2 separate regions of the Homo sapiens genome follow, and region 2 is linked to region 1. Evidence: promoter capture Hi-C in 16 types of primary human blood cells and fetal thymus (Javierre and others, 2016). All regions are on one chromosome and are shown on one strand. Each heading gives the region's core, a stretch centred on a gene start or on the middle of the fragment in contact. The rest is flanking DNA. Distances are from core to core; before and after follow the strand shown.

Region 1 (6,436 bases), core at 1,502-4,001:
TCTAATGTGTCATCATTCTGCAGGGAAAGGAATAAAAAACCCAGACAGTATGCATTGGAATCAGATGCTGATGTGGTAATGACACTAGCAGAGAAGTCAGAACAGACCACACAAGATGTCCCAGGAGACAGAACAACTTGAACTGTGAGTGAGAATGAGACTGTCAAGAGAAAATGCCAAAGCTGATGTGTACTCAGGAGAGTCAACTGGTTATTCAAAGATCTAACAAGCTAATATTTTAGGAATAGGAATAACACATGCATGAGGGCCCTACCACCTAGACGGAGCTGCACAGACACATACAGACATACATACATGCACACACATTTTTTTTTGCTGAACCATTTGAAGGTAAGTTGCAGACATCATGATGTCTCACTCTACAGTCTTCAGCTTGTATCTCCTGTGGATATTCTCTTACATAATCACAGTACTATTATCACATGCAATAAATTTCATATTGATACAATATGACCTAAGATACAGCCCATTTTCAAATTTCCTCTTGTCCCAAACTGCCCTTTATCAATTTTTTTGGATCTATCCCCTAAGCAAGGAACATGCATTGCATTTGACTGTCAAGTTTCTTGAGGACTATAAAGCATTGTGACACACTACAGAAGTGAGGCACAGCTCACAATACACGTTTTGCAGCTGTTTCTAGCTGGCTATAATCTGCCATCACCTCTTTTGAGTGGCAGACTGACAAAATCACAAAATGCTAAAAAAAAAACAAAAACCCAAAGACCCCTTATTCCTCCACATCTTTCACTCTACTGTGCTCTCTTTGTCAACTGCACCCTTCTAAATACAACCATGGGGTGAGGTGGTTGCGGTAGAAAAACAAAATGAGGAACAGAGTTCACAGTCTGTAAAAGGAGGGATCTGGGTCCCATTTGGCTGCAGAAGTTCCCAGGGCCAATTCCTTGCTGAGCCCCCAGATTCTCTAAATCTCCAGGACTCTCCATGAAGGCCCCATGCCAGGGGCTGGGTACAGAGGAAAGCACACAGGGATGTGTCCCCTACCGCCACTCTTAACCAAGTGCTGCAATCCAGCCCTTCCTGAGCTGCTCCACGTGCCCCTGTCTGATTCCAGTCCCAGTAAACCAACCGTGCAAACATCCTGCACCAACCCCTGGCCAGCACGTGGATAGGCAAAGCGACCCCATGTGAGCCGTCAACTACTTTCTCAGATTCCACTAAAACCACTCCTCAGAGCTCCCAGCACAGCGCTGGGCAGAGAGATCCCCAGCAACTGACCCACTGAATTGGACTGGGCGAGACATTCAATAGAGCACATCTCGAGGGCACACCTCGGGCAACATCTGGACTCTTCACTTGGAGCTGTTCCCACTGCCCAGAGCTTCCTGAGGACTGGCCAGCAGGTACCCGGGTGAAGGTCTGTGGAAGGCTGACGATCCAGGGCTGGGGAGGGAATGTGCCAACCCTCTTCATAAAGAAGGAAGAACACACAGCCACTCACCTTGGACCTGGCTTCGGGAAGACCCCAACCCGATATATCCTCGAGATTCTCTTTCAGGGAAAGAGCAGGATCCTGAGAGGAAAGAGCTGGCGAAGGAGAAATGAGTCAAGGTCACGGCTACCAGGCTCACGGCTGAGCTTAAAGCCCACCTGTCGTGGCACAAGTGAGAATCAGAGAGGAGGCAGAACCTGCCAGCAAGGCCAGGTGGGGAACGAGCCCCAGTAGCTAGCACCAACAGAAACAGCATCGAGGAATAATCTGCCTGTGTCTCAGACACTCCAATTCATGACGAAAAGAGCTGCTACCCCCAATCAAGCACGTCTGAGTGGGAACAAATGATTGGGCGCGGGGAAGAAAGAAGCAGGAGGCCAGGAGCGATGGCTCACGCCTGTAATCCCAGCACTTTGGGAGGCCGAGGCGGGCGGATCGCTTGAGCTTAAGACCAGCCTGGGAAACATGGCAAAACCCCGTCTCTACTAAAAATACAAACATTAGCCGGGCGTGGTGGCGCGCGCCTGCAATCCCAACTACTTGGGAGGTTGAGGCGGGAGAATAGTTTGAACCCGGGAAGCAGAGGTTGCAGTGAGCGGAGATCAAGCCATTGCACCACTCCCGCCTGGGTGACAGAGTGAGATTCCATTTAAAAAAAAAAAAAAAGATGCTGGATGCTTCTGGGAAACTGGCCTGATCTCTCTGAGTGTCAATATCCTCAAGTGCAAATCCACAGACATACTGACTACAAGAGTGAAGCTGTACCTGTCTTCTCGGGCTCCGGGGCAGGGATCTCCATGGCCTCCACGGCAGCCTCCCCAGGAGGAGTGGGCAGCTGTGTAGCCTCCAGGATCCAGGGCAGGCCCTGAAGAGCGAGTACTGCTCCTGGGGCTGAGGGGCCTGCAGCGGAGCCCCGCGGGGCGGCCACGCGCTCACAGCTGCACGATCACACGCACGGAGCCCCCTCCCCGCGCCCGGCTGAGGTGGGGTTCAGGCCGGCTCCGCAGATACCCACTCCCCACACCAGGCTCAGCCCCATGCTCGGCGCACTCACGCCCCGGCACACCCCCGCCACACGCTCCTCCCGGCGAACCCGCGCTCGGAGACCAGGGCCAGGCCTAAGGTTCCGCGGCCAGGAGCCATCGGACGCGGAGCGACCAGCGGACAGGTCCCGAAGCGGACAGAGACCGCCGACGGTCTGAGGGACCGGCAAGTGGACAGACCGGACTCCCACAAAAGGACTGCGACTGCCACAAAGAGCAGCAGGCGGCCGCTGCGGGAAAGCGCGCCTGCGCGAAATAGGCGCAAACTACACCTCCCGGGAGCGTTTGCGCCGCGCAGGCGTCAGACTCCATTTCCTAGAGCGAGTTCGGGCCGGTGCTTGCGTCCCGACGCGAACGAGTATCTAGCACATCCTTCTAGGAAATGTAGTTCCTGGGCCCACAGCCGGGAGCTCCGGCACCCACCATGCTCTTGCGGGCGGATGTCGCTGTGTATCTCCGTGTGCGGATCAGTGTAGTGCCGCTGCATGGGTGTCTAATTGCGAGGATACTGGGAGGGCGGTGTCCAGGAACTAGAATTTGTCCTGTTAGTTCGTCCACGTCCCCACGTAGCTGGGAGTCGGGTGGGTTCCTGCCCACATCTGTCTGCAGGAAAGACTCAAGCCCCTGGTCTTACGGATATTGGGAGTGGTGGGTCTGGCCTCGAGGGGTTTTCCAGGGGCCCTGCCCCCACTCCCCCTTCTCGAGCCACATATCTGAGGCCCATGGGCGCGGGTCCCCAGAGGTGGGAGAGCCTTGGCCTAGTCCCCCCAGAGGGTCCTGTCCACAGTTCACCCCTGGGGCGGGAAAGGAAGGTCTGGGTGGCGGCCCAGTCCTGGCGGCACAGAGCTCTGCCATGAACACAGTGATGACGCCAGCGACAGAAACATTGAATATGTACTGAGCACCAACCAAACGCCAGGCCTACTTCAAGAGCTTGGAGTACATTTTTCTGGCAGAATGCTCACAGCAGTCCAGGGAGGTTTGCTAACTACTGTCATCCCATTTGGGAGATGAGGAAGTTGTGGTACAGGTGCGTGGGGTAACGTGTCGCAAATCACACAGCCAGAAGTAGGAATCCAGCACCGAAGTGCATTGCCACATTCCTACTGAGAGGTGGTCCGGGGTGGTGCACACTCCAAACCCTTCAGCCTCCCACCTTAACCGCAGCTTAGGCTTGGCCACAGGCTCTCACGTGACACCTGTCCACTGCCCACATCAGCACAGCTGTGCCCAGACCTCCCCTGCCCAGGGCAGCGCCCGTGTTTGATTTTGTTTTGAGACTGGGTCTCACTCTGTCGCCCAGGCTGGAGTGCAGTTGCACAATCACGGCTCACCGTAGCCTCAGTCTCTCGGGCTCAAACTATTCTCCCACCTCAGCCTCCGGAGTAGCTGGGACTTACAGACATGCACCACCACGCCCGGTTAATTTTTATATTCAGCGCCCATTTTTAATAGCAACCCAGTGAGAGGGGACAGCGTGCTGGCAGTCCTCACAGCCCTTGCTCGCTCTCGGCGCCTAGTCGGCCTTGGCGCCCACTCTGGCCGCGCTTGAGGAGCCCTTCAGCCCACCGCTGCACTGTGGGAGCCCCTTCCTGGGCTGGCTGCGGCCGGAGCCGGCTCCCTCAGCTTGCCGAGAGGTGTGGAGGGAGAGGCGCGGGCGGGAACCGGGACTGCGCGCAGCGCTTGCGGGCCAGCACGAGTTCCGGGTGGGCGTGGGCTCAGCGGGCCCCGCACTCGGAGCTGCCAGCCGGACCCGGGCAGTGAGGGGCTTAGCACCTGGGCCAGCAGCTGCTGTGCTCGACTTCTCGCCGGGCCTTCGTTGCCTCCCCGCGGGGCAGGGCTCGGGACCTGCAGCCCGCCATGCCTGAGCCTACCCACCGCCGTGGGCTCCTGCGCGGCCCAAGCCTCCCCGACAAGCGCCGCCCCCTGCTCCACGGCGCCCAGTCCCATCGACCACCCAAGGGCTGAGGAGTGCGGGCGCACGGCGCGGGACTGGAAGGCAGCTCCACCTGCGGCCCCGGTGCGGGATCCACTGGGTGAAGCCAGCTGGGCTTCTGAGTCTGGTGGGGACTTGGAGAACCTTTATGTCTAGCTAAGGGATTGTAAATACACCAGTGGGCACTCTGTGTCTAGCTTAAGGTTTGTAAACACACCAATCAGCACCCTGTGTCTAGCTCAGGGTTTGTGAATGCATCAATCGACACTGTATCTAGCTACTCTGCTGGGGACTTGGAGAACCTTTATGTCTAGCTAAGGGGTTGAAAATACACCAATCGGCACTCTGTATCTAGCTCAAGGTTTGTAAACACACCAATCAGCACTCTGTGTCTAGCTCAGGGTTTGTGAATGCATCAATCAACACTGTATCTAGCTACTCTGGTGGGGACTTGGAGAACCTTTATGTCTAGCTAAGGGATTGTAAATACACCAATTGGCACTCTGTATCTAGCCCAAGGTTTGTAAATGCACCAATCAGCACTCTGTGTCTAGCTCAGGGTTTGTGAATGCACCAGTGGACACTCTGTATCTAGCTAATCTAGTGGGGACGTGGAGAACTTTTGTGTCTAGCTCTTTGGGTCCACGCTGCCTTTATGAGCTGTTAACACTGCGAAGGTCTGTAGCTTCACTTCTGAAGCTAGCGAGACCACGAACGCACCAGAAGGAAGAAACTCCGCGCACGCTGCGTTTAAGAACTGTGACACTCACCACGAGGGTCTGTGGCTTCATTCTTGAAGTCAGTGAAACCAAGAACCCACCAATTCTGGACACACCAGGACAAGAGCCTTGGTGGGGTATAGAACTGTTGATTACACAGTGCATGAGTCTATGTGTAAGTTTGTGTATGTGTTTGTTTCTCTGTGTATCTTACAGGTGTAGGTGTGGGTCCGCTTTTGCCTCACATTTCTTATGTGTTTCTGTCCTGGTGTGCCTCTGTGAAACAATGTGTACGTGCACCTGTGCACAGGTGACTCTATGAGTGTGTATGTGGGCACTGTCTCAACAGTTCTGGAGTCTGGATACGTGTTTGTGTGCAGGCTTGTGTACATGGGACAGGAACCTGTACATGGGAGTGGAACTTGTGTGCACGGTGTGCTTGCTGATGAGTCTAATGTGATTATCTGTTGGCATCTGGCTGTTGACTAACAGGTCAGGTCTGAGTCTTTCTTTTTTTGTTTTTGAGATGGAGTCGCGCTCTGTTGTCCAGGCTGGAGTGCAGTGGCGCAATCTCAGCTCACTGCAATCTCTGCCTTCTGAGTAGCTGGGACTACAGGTGCCCGCCATCACACCCGGCTAATTTTTTTGTAATTTTAGTAGAGATGGGGTTTCACCATGTTAGCCAGGATGGTCTCAATCTCTTGACCTCGTGATCCACCCGCCTCGACCTCCCAAAGTGCTAGGATTACAGGCCTGAGCCACCATGCCTGGCTGGGTCTGAGTCTTTCTGTATAAGTGCACATGTGTATGTGTGTGTGTGCCTCACTGTTTACACAGATCTGAATGTATGACTGGCATATCTGTGCATGTAACTCTGCAGTTCATCTCTGTAGATTGTGGATGTATCATCTATGTCTGCTTGCCTGAGTGTGTTCTGTGTGATAGTGAGTAGATGCCTTACGCCAGTGACTATGGACGGCGTCTTGTTCAGGTGAATTTGTAGACCTGTGTGTGTGTGTGGTTCTCTCAAAGTTCTAGTTTGTTGTGAGATGGTATGCACCTCTTTTCATTTGTGGGGCTGTAGACCTCGCAGGTCCAGTTGTGGCTGTGTGTGTGCCTGCATGTGTTCTTCTGTATGCCACTCTGTGTTGACTTCCAGGGCTCATCAGTGTCAGTACGTGCATCCTTGTGTACATGTGTATGTCACTGTGGGCCTCATGGATCCCCTGTGTCTGTAGGAAAGCCAGTGTGAGCCCAGGGATTC
Region 2 (6,436 bases), core at 2,700-5,199, 110 kb after region 1:
GGCAGTGCATGTGTCTGGAGTGGGCCTGGTGACACTCTTGCTCAGGTGGAGCTCTCCTCAGGGAGGGGTGCCCGGCCATCCCCTGACGTCTCCCCAGCCTGACCTAGCTCTCTCCCCCAGGTGGGCAGTCCCCAGTGTGCAGGGATAAGCTTGTCTACTGTCCCCAGAGCCTGACCTGGCCTTGTGTTCCCTGCCGGGTGCCGGCAGGGCTTGTAGCCTCAGCACTGACCATGCCTGCTGGGCACCCACTCAAGGGCTTGGGGGCTTCCCGGAGGAGGTGACAGCTGAGCTGAGACAAGAAGGACCCAGGCTGGTGAGGGAGAACCAGGGTCTCAGGGAGCACAGGGAGACAGTCCATAAAGTCACGGGGAGACTTTGGCCCAGGAGGGTGAAATCAGCACCCCAGACTCACCCCCAAGCCTGCCCCACTCTAGCCAGGGAAGGGTCGGGGCGGGGGGCTGGCGGCCTCTACTTCTCACTTCTTTGCTGTGGACACCCCCATGCCCCCATCTTCCTCCAGCAGCACGGGAATCCCCAAGGGCCCCATCAGTCCCAGCTCCTGAACCAGAGGTCTCAAACTGCAGGCTCTGCTGGAGGTCCGAATGTCAGGGGTCAGAATGTCAGCAACCTGTGCCTTCCAGCAGGGTCACCAAGGTGAGTTCCCTTGGGTGGAGGACAGACGGTGCTGTGCACATCACAGCTGAAGGCTTGGGCTCTCCTCCTGTCCCAGAGCCCTTCAGGGGCTTCAGGCCTCATGCAGAGCCTGTTTCCTTGGCTGATGTGGGATGTGTTTCAGCCCCAGGTCTCAGCCAGCGGTCGCCCAGCGGCACGGTCAGAGCCGGGCCTGCCTGGTTCCCTGGGCCGGCACTCTGAGTCCAAGGTGGCACGGTTGGGCAGTGACCTCTCCCTGGGCCCCCAACCTCTGACCTCCTAGGCACTGGCCCGAGCCATGGCTCCTGAAAAGGAAAACCTGGGAACTCCTTCAACGTCCACCATAGGTGATGATGGGCTCAGAGCACCATGGGGTGTGCCCAAGATGATGAGCCCCTCCCTGCATGTCAGTAACAGGGACACACATCTCTGATGCGTGGGGAGGGAAGAGTCTGAGTGTGTGAAGCTGTCTGTCCATGCAGGCCACACATGGATGGGGTGCAAGGACACGGAATGGAGGAAGACAGGACTCGGAGGACTCCCGTCTTACATGGCAATGTTTTTGTTTTTGCATCCACCGCTCTTGTATAAAGAGCAGTCTTTACAAAGTAATACCGCCTTGAGTTAACCCCACAGTTTATCTTGTAATGTGGAACAGTCAGGGTCAATTGAAGATGAGCATCCCCCTGAGGCTGACCCATAGCAGGGGCCGCTGGAGCCAGGCCCTTCGGGGTATTTGAGATTTCTTTAGCCAGGCCTGGGGGGCACTGGCAGGGAGGGCCTCCAGAGCTGTTCACAGCCTTTGTCTCCCCTCTGGGAAGGGCACTGAGTGGAGTCAGGTGAGGGGCCCGTGCTCGCCCACCAGGGTTGTTCCAAACACAGGCAGCCAAGCTCGCTGGCAAGCTCCCGGTGCCCTGTGAGCAGCTCTGACGTCGGTGGACAGTGTTCCCAGTGAGTCTGCCGTCAGTCCTTGCGCCCAGCATTGATTTTCCTTCCGCGGTCAAGCTAGGCTGTGTTGTTGGTACTCGCTGTACCTCCAGGTGCTGAGCAAGCTGACCTTGGCCTCCCTGGCCCCACGGCTGCATGAGGCTAATCTCCCCCTACACACCCCACCCCTCTGCCCCCGCCAACACCAGGGCACAGAGGGGCTGGCCCATGGCTTTCTTGAAACGGTGCATTTCATTTCTGATTATAAAACTAAAGCGTGCTTTGGTAGACAGCGTGGTGGATATGGGGAAGGATAAAAGGACATCGACCTGTTCTGACATCCCAGCACCCAGGGCAGGGACCCAGAGGGGAGATTTGGGCATATTTCTCTCCACTGTCTTCTCTGCAGGCATGACACAGGTGTGCACACACACATCCAGCCCACTGACATGTGCGCAAGCATGAACACATGTGGGACACTTGCCCTGCGCCACAGTGTGTGTGAGGCATGTGCACGTCCACTGCCCTCTGTGGAAGGCGTGTTCACACCTGTGCACATACCTGAGGCCACTCTATCACTGCAGGCCCCTGTGCATTTCGTGGGAGGCATGTTCCCATTTCATTAAGAATTCTCAGCTGGGCACCGTGGCTCACACCTGTAATCCCAGCACTTTGGGAGGCTGAGGCAGGTGGATCACGAGGTCAGGAGATCGAAACCGTCCTGGCCAACATGGTGAAACCCCATCTCTACTAAAAATACAAAAATTAGCTGGGCATAGGGACATGTGCCTTTAATCCCAGCTACTCAGGAGGCTGAGGCAGGAGAATTGCTTGAACCAGGGAGTCGGAGGTTGCAGTGAGCCGAGATCGCACACTCCAGCCTGGTGACAGAGCGAGACTCCATCTCAAAAAAAAAAAAAAAAAAAAGAACTATTCGTGATGGATCTACTCCAGGCCCTGCCTTGCCATCACTAGCCACAGAGCAACTCACAGCCAGTGCTCTCCTCACAGGGGTCTGAATGGCAAGGAGTGAGCCCCAGGATGACCCAGGACAAGCGGCAGCAACAGGGTGAGTTCCCAGGATGGTGGACAGGCTGTGTGCAGCTCCCGGCTCTCAGCGGGTACAGAGATCCCAGGGAAAGCCATGAGATGACTCCTGCACTTGTCCTGCCAGCAACCTGCAGGGGTGGGTGGGTGGGATCAAGAGTGACAGCAACCGCAGACACCCAGACATCCCCCAAAAGAGCAAGGGGGGCTCTGGGTGATGTTCCAGAGGGGCAGGAGCGAGGAGGGAGGCCAGGGGCACCGAGGGCATCTCATCACATGGGCTCTGTCCCAGCCACAGTGCTGTCTCTCCCAGAGCCCTGTGTAGCCTCCTGCCCATAGGTGAAGACCCAGCCTCAGCTCCCTGCACGCAGCAGGCCCACGCATCCATCCATCTGTTCACACCAGGAAGCCCAGAGGCAGGTGGACGGCCTCTGTCTTGGCAGTGCAACGTTGCTGGAAGCATCCTCCAAGAGTCACCTAGCCCCACAGACACTGATGGAGGACAGCAATGATGCTTCCTGACAGCAACCACCATTCACTGAGCATTCAGCAGGGGTGGGTGTCAGGGTCAGCCTCCACCACGTCACTGTGGGAACAGCCCCCAGGACCCGCTAACTCATTTTATACATCAGGAGGAAAGCCAGGGAGCGCGACACACTCTCCAGCTACCGTGGGGCCAGCACACTGTCCAGCCACCTTGGGCCAGTGAAACGGAAAAAGTTCCCTTGTTGCCCTAGCAGGGTGTGTGAGAAGGGGAGTGGCTCGCTTCTTCAGTGCTCTGCTGCCCAAACCTCTAGGGGAGCTTACAGACGGGCAGGCTGTGGAGCTCCGACCCCACAGCAGTGTCTAGGGGTGAAGGTTTACAGCTGAAGCCCCAGTGGGCGTGTGTCACGGGGGCTTTTTTAGTTTGTCGTCTGTAGGGTGGCTTGTGTTAGTCAGAGGGCTTTCTGGATCCTGGGGTTCTTGCCTTTGTGTACCAGAAGAGTCAGATCACACGTGGACTTGGAGAATGAGTGCAAGGTTTTATTGAGGGGAGGTGGCTCCCAGCAGATAGGGGAAGCTAGAAGGGGGTGGAGTGGGAAGGTTTTCCCCTGGAGTGGGGCCGCTGTGCACCCGGGCTGTCCTCCAACTGCCCCAGCCAAACTCCGTGTGGTTCTGCCAGTCAGTGGCCTGCCAGCATGCCGGTGCCTATCAGTGCGTTCATCTCGACATCCAGCCGCCCGTGTGTGTCTCCGCTGATGTGTTCCTCTCCACGTCCAGCTGCCTGTGTCTGCCTGCTAAGGTCTCGGGGGATTTTATAAGCACAGGATGGGGGCGTGGCAGGCTAGGGTGGTCGTGAGAAATGCAACATTTGGGTAGGAAGTGCCTGTTCTCACCTAGGTCCGTGGGGTTGGAGCCCTAGTCTGGGACCATGCCCTCCTCTACCCAGCACTTCCCTCCCCTGCTTCCGTATCATTTAAATGGACCACACTTTTCCCTTCCCAGCACTTGCCTTCCCTACCAACAGCACATTCTCTAGCCACCATGGGGTCAGCACACTCTCCAGCTACGTGGGGCCAGCAGCGGCTGGGCTCCAACTCAGGTCTGCACCAGACCCTCATTCTTAAACCCCTGCGTCTCGGCCTGCCCATGTTCCAGCTTCCCCAAGTCTTGACTCCCAATGTCCCAGCCTCCTTGAGGTCTCAGTCTCCCTGTTCCAGGCCTCAGCCTCCCCTGAGTCCCTGCCTAGCCCAGTTCCTACCTCCCACATCCCCTCCCCAGGTCTCTGCTACCATGGCCCACCCAGCTGCACCCCCACCCCACAGGTCTCCTGGGACCCAGGAGGCCACTCATGGGCTAAGCCTGGTGGCATCCGCGTGTAAACCTTGCCCTGAGCACACGCCCGTGGCTGTGGCTGCTGACTTTCACTGTGCATATTAAATGCCATTAAGATGGATGGGATTGGCTTTCAGTGTCCAGAGGACTGCAGCACACGGAGGAACAGCCGCCCTGCAGGGCCTCTCCCCGAGCTCTGGCGGGTGAGCCCTTGTGGGAGGGGCTGGGGAGCTGGGACCCATTTAGGGTGTGGTTGGGGGAGAAGGCAGGAGGCAGGTGGGACCTCCCCCGGAACCTCTCCTGAGACACCCTAAGGGCTGGGAATGGGAGCTACTTGGTGGGGGAACCCAGCAGGGGTTTCCTGTCCCTGGGCTGTGGCCATGACGAGGACCCTCCTGCTGTTGCCTCTCCCAAGGCCACTCGGCCCCTGCTCACTGTGCAACCTTACAGAGCAGCTCAGCCTCTCTGAGCCCCTCTGTCATCTTTAGCCACTGCCCACCAGAGTCCCCTGGGAGCCACTGGCCGAGGCAAGGCTGGGCAGGGGATTGACATAGGCTCTCACTCCTTCAGATGCCCTCAAATGGGATTCAACCCTGTCTTGACTCCTGAGACCTCCCAGCCTAGGCTCTGAGGGTCTGTCCAGACCTGCAGGTAGATGGCTGGGCCTGCAGGGACAGAGGCGGCCGGCAGAGGGCAGCAGAGGGCCACAGAACTGAGTGGCCGGCACTCACCAGGCCGGGATGTGGCCACCCTGCATGCAAGCAGCCCTGCCTCTGCCCTGGGCCTTGTCCCACCCCAAGACACCCCAGGCCCTGGCTAAGCTGTGGCAGGGAGGCCAGGCCTCACCCCTCTCCCTCCTGACACCTGCCCAGCCACTGGCTTGGGCCGCCGCCCTCCAGGCCTCTCCTGCCACCCACCCCAGCACCAGGCCCCCTGATGCCCCTGCTTCCCTCCCAAGGGTCCCTCCTAGACACCATCCTGGCCCAGCCAAGATGCCAGCACAGGATCTCCCCAAAACACTCTGGAGGACGGGTGAGGCTCCAGCACCTTCCAGGTGGCACTCATGATGAACAATCCCAGGGGCCACGCACCCTGGACCCACCTCCCCCAACACAGAGACCCCCAAACAGGCCCTCAGCCATGAGTATGGACACACAAGGCTCCCGGTGTATGGGCAAAGGGTTGACACTGGCTCATAGTGTGGGCACCATGTCACAGGGCGAGACGGAGACTCAGCCCCCAGGGTAGTGGCCAGTGCTGACCTTGGGCTAGGCCAGGGCCTGGCCATGCTGAACCAGGTCTGAGCATCCTCAGAGGCCAGCATCTCCTTGTGGGGTCCCCACAAAGGCAGCCATGGGCTGGGCCCACCTTGAGCTCAGCACCTTGAGGGCCACAGAGCCTCATGGCCCAGGCCACTAGTGGTCCCTTTATGTTCTCTGGTGACAGGAAGCCCCCCTTCCCGTCAGCCCAGTCTGTCAGCCCCCTCTGCCCTGAGGTGAGGCTTCTATGACTGGTGAGGCCCATGGTCCTGGCTCCAACCTAGCATTCCTCGGGACCCACTCCCATGCCCGGCTCCCTGCCAGACCCACACACCCAACCCAGCTAACACCAGCCCCACCCCATCCTTCCCCCAGGGGGGCAGTACCCTCCACTCTCCTTCACTGGTCCCCTCTCTGTCCCCTCTTCCTGCCTCCCCGCCCTATCCACTGGGCCCTCGTTGTCTATCCTCCTTCCACCACTCTTGAGAAACTTCCCGCACATGAGCACCCATCCTTCCCCACACCTGCTCACCAGGCCTGGCTGGGCCTGACCCTCTCCTGAAGTGAGGGCTGCAGCCTGGTCGGCTCAGCTCATCAGCACAGACTTGTTTCTGTCACAACAGCTGGTGAGGACTGAGCAGACCATGGGCTAGCCAGGTCTCCACGGCCTGCCCTGGGCACCGTGATGCTCCAGGGTGGTGCAATGAGGGAGGAGCTGCAGGTGGCTGACAGCTGGC

Evidence for each region. Contacts are between HindIII fragments. The CHiCAGO score rates a contact against its expected background, and 5 or more counts as called.
Region 2: a contact is called between a fragment that was not itself captured here and the fragment with the promoter of ZNF74 in region 1, in 2 of 17 cell types (M0 macrophages and non-activated CD4 T cells). The highest score is 7.7, in M0 macrophages.

What each region holds. Positions count from the first base shown.
Region 1 is chr22:20,390,466-20,396,901 of GRCh38, reverse strand. ZNF74 (zinc finger protein 74) reads right to left here and starts at 2,751. Exons shown (of 5, transcript NM_003426.4): 1 at 2,240-2,751; 2 at 1,484-1,569. The coding sequence starts at 2,273. RefSeq lists enhancers at 2,571-2,710, 3,181-3,250, 2,652-3,641. The HindIII fragment of the contact is 14,387 bases long and covers 1-6,436 here.
Region 2 is chr22:20,284,603-20,291,038 of GRCh38, reverse strand. No RefSeq gene overlaps it. Among named protein-coding and RNA genes, the nearest start is that of RTN4R, 20 kb to the right of the region's middle. RefSeq lists a silencer at 5,149-5,218. The HindIII fragment of the contact is 7,595 bases long and covers 152-6,436 here.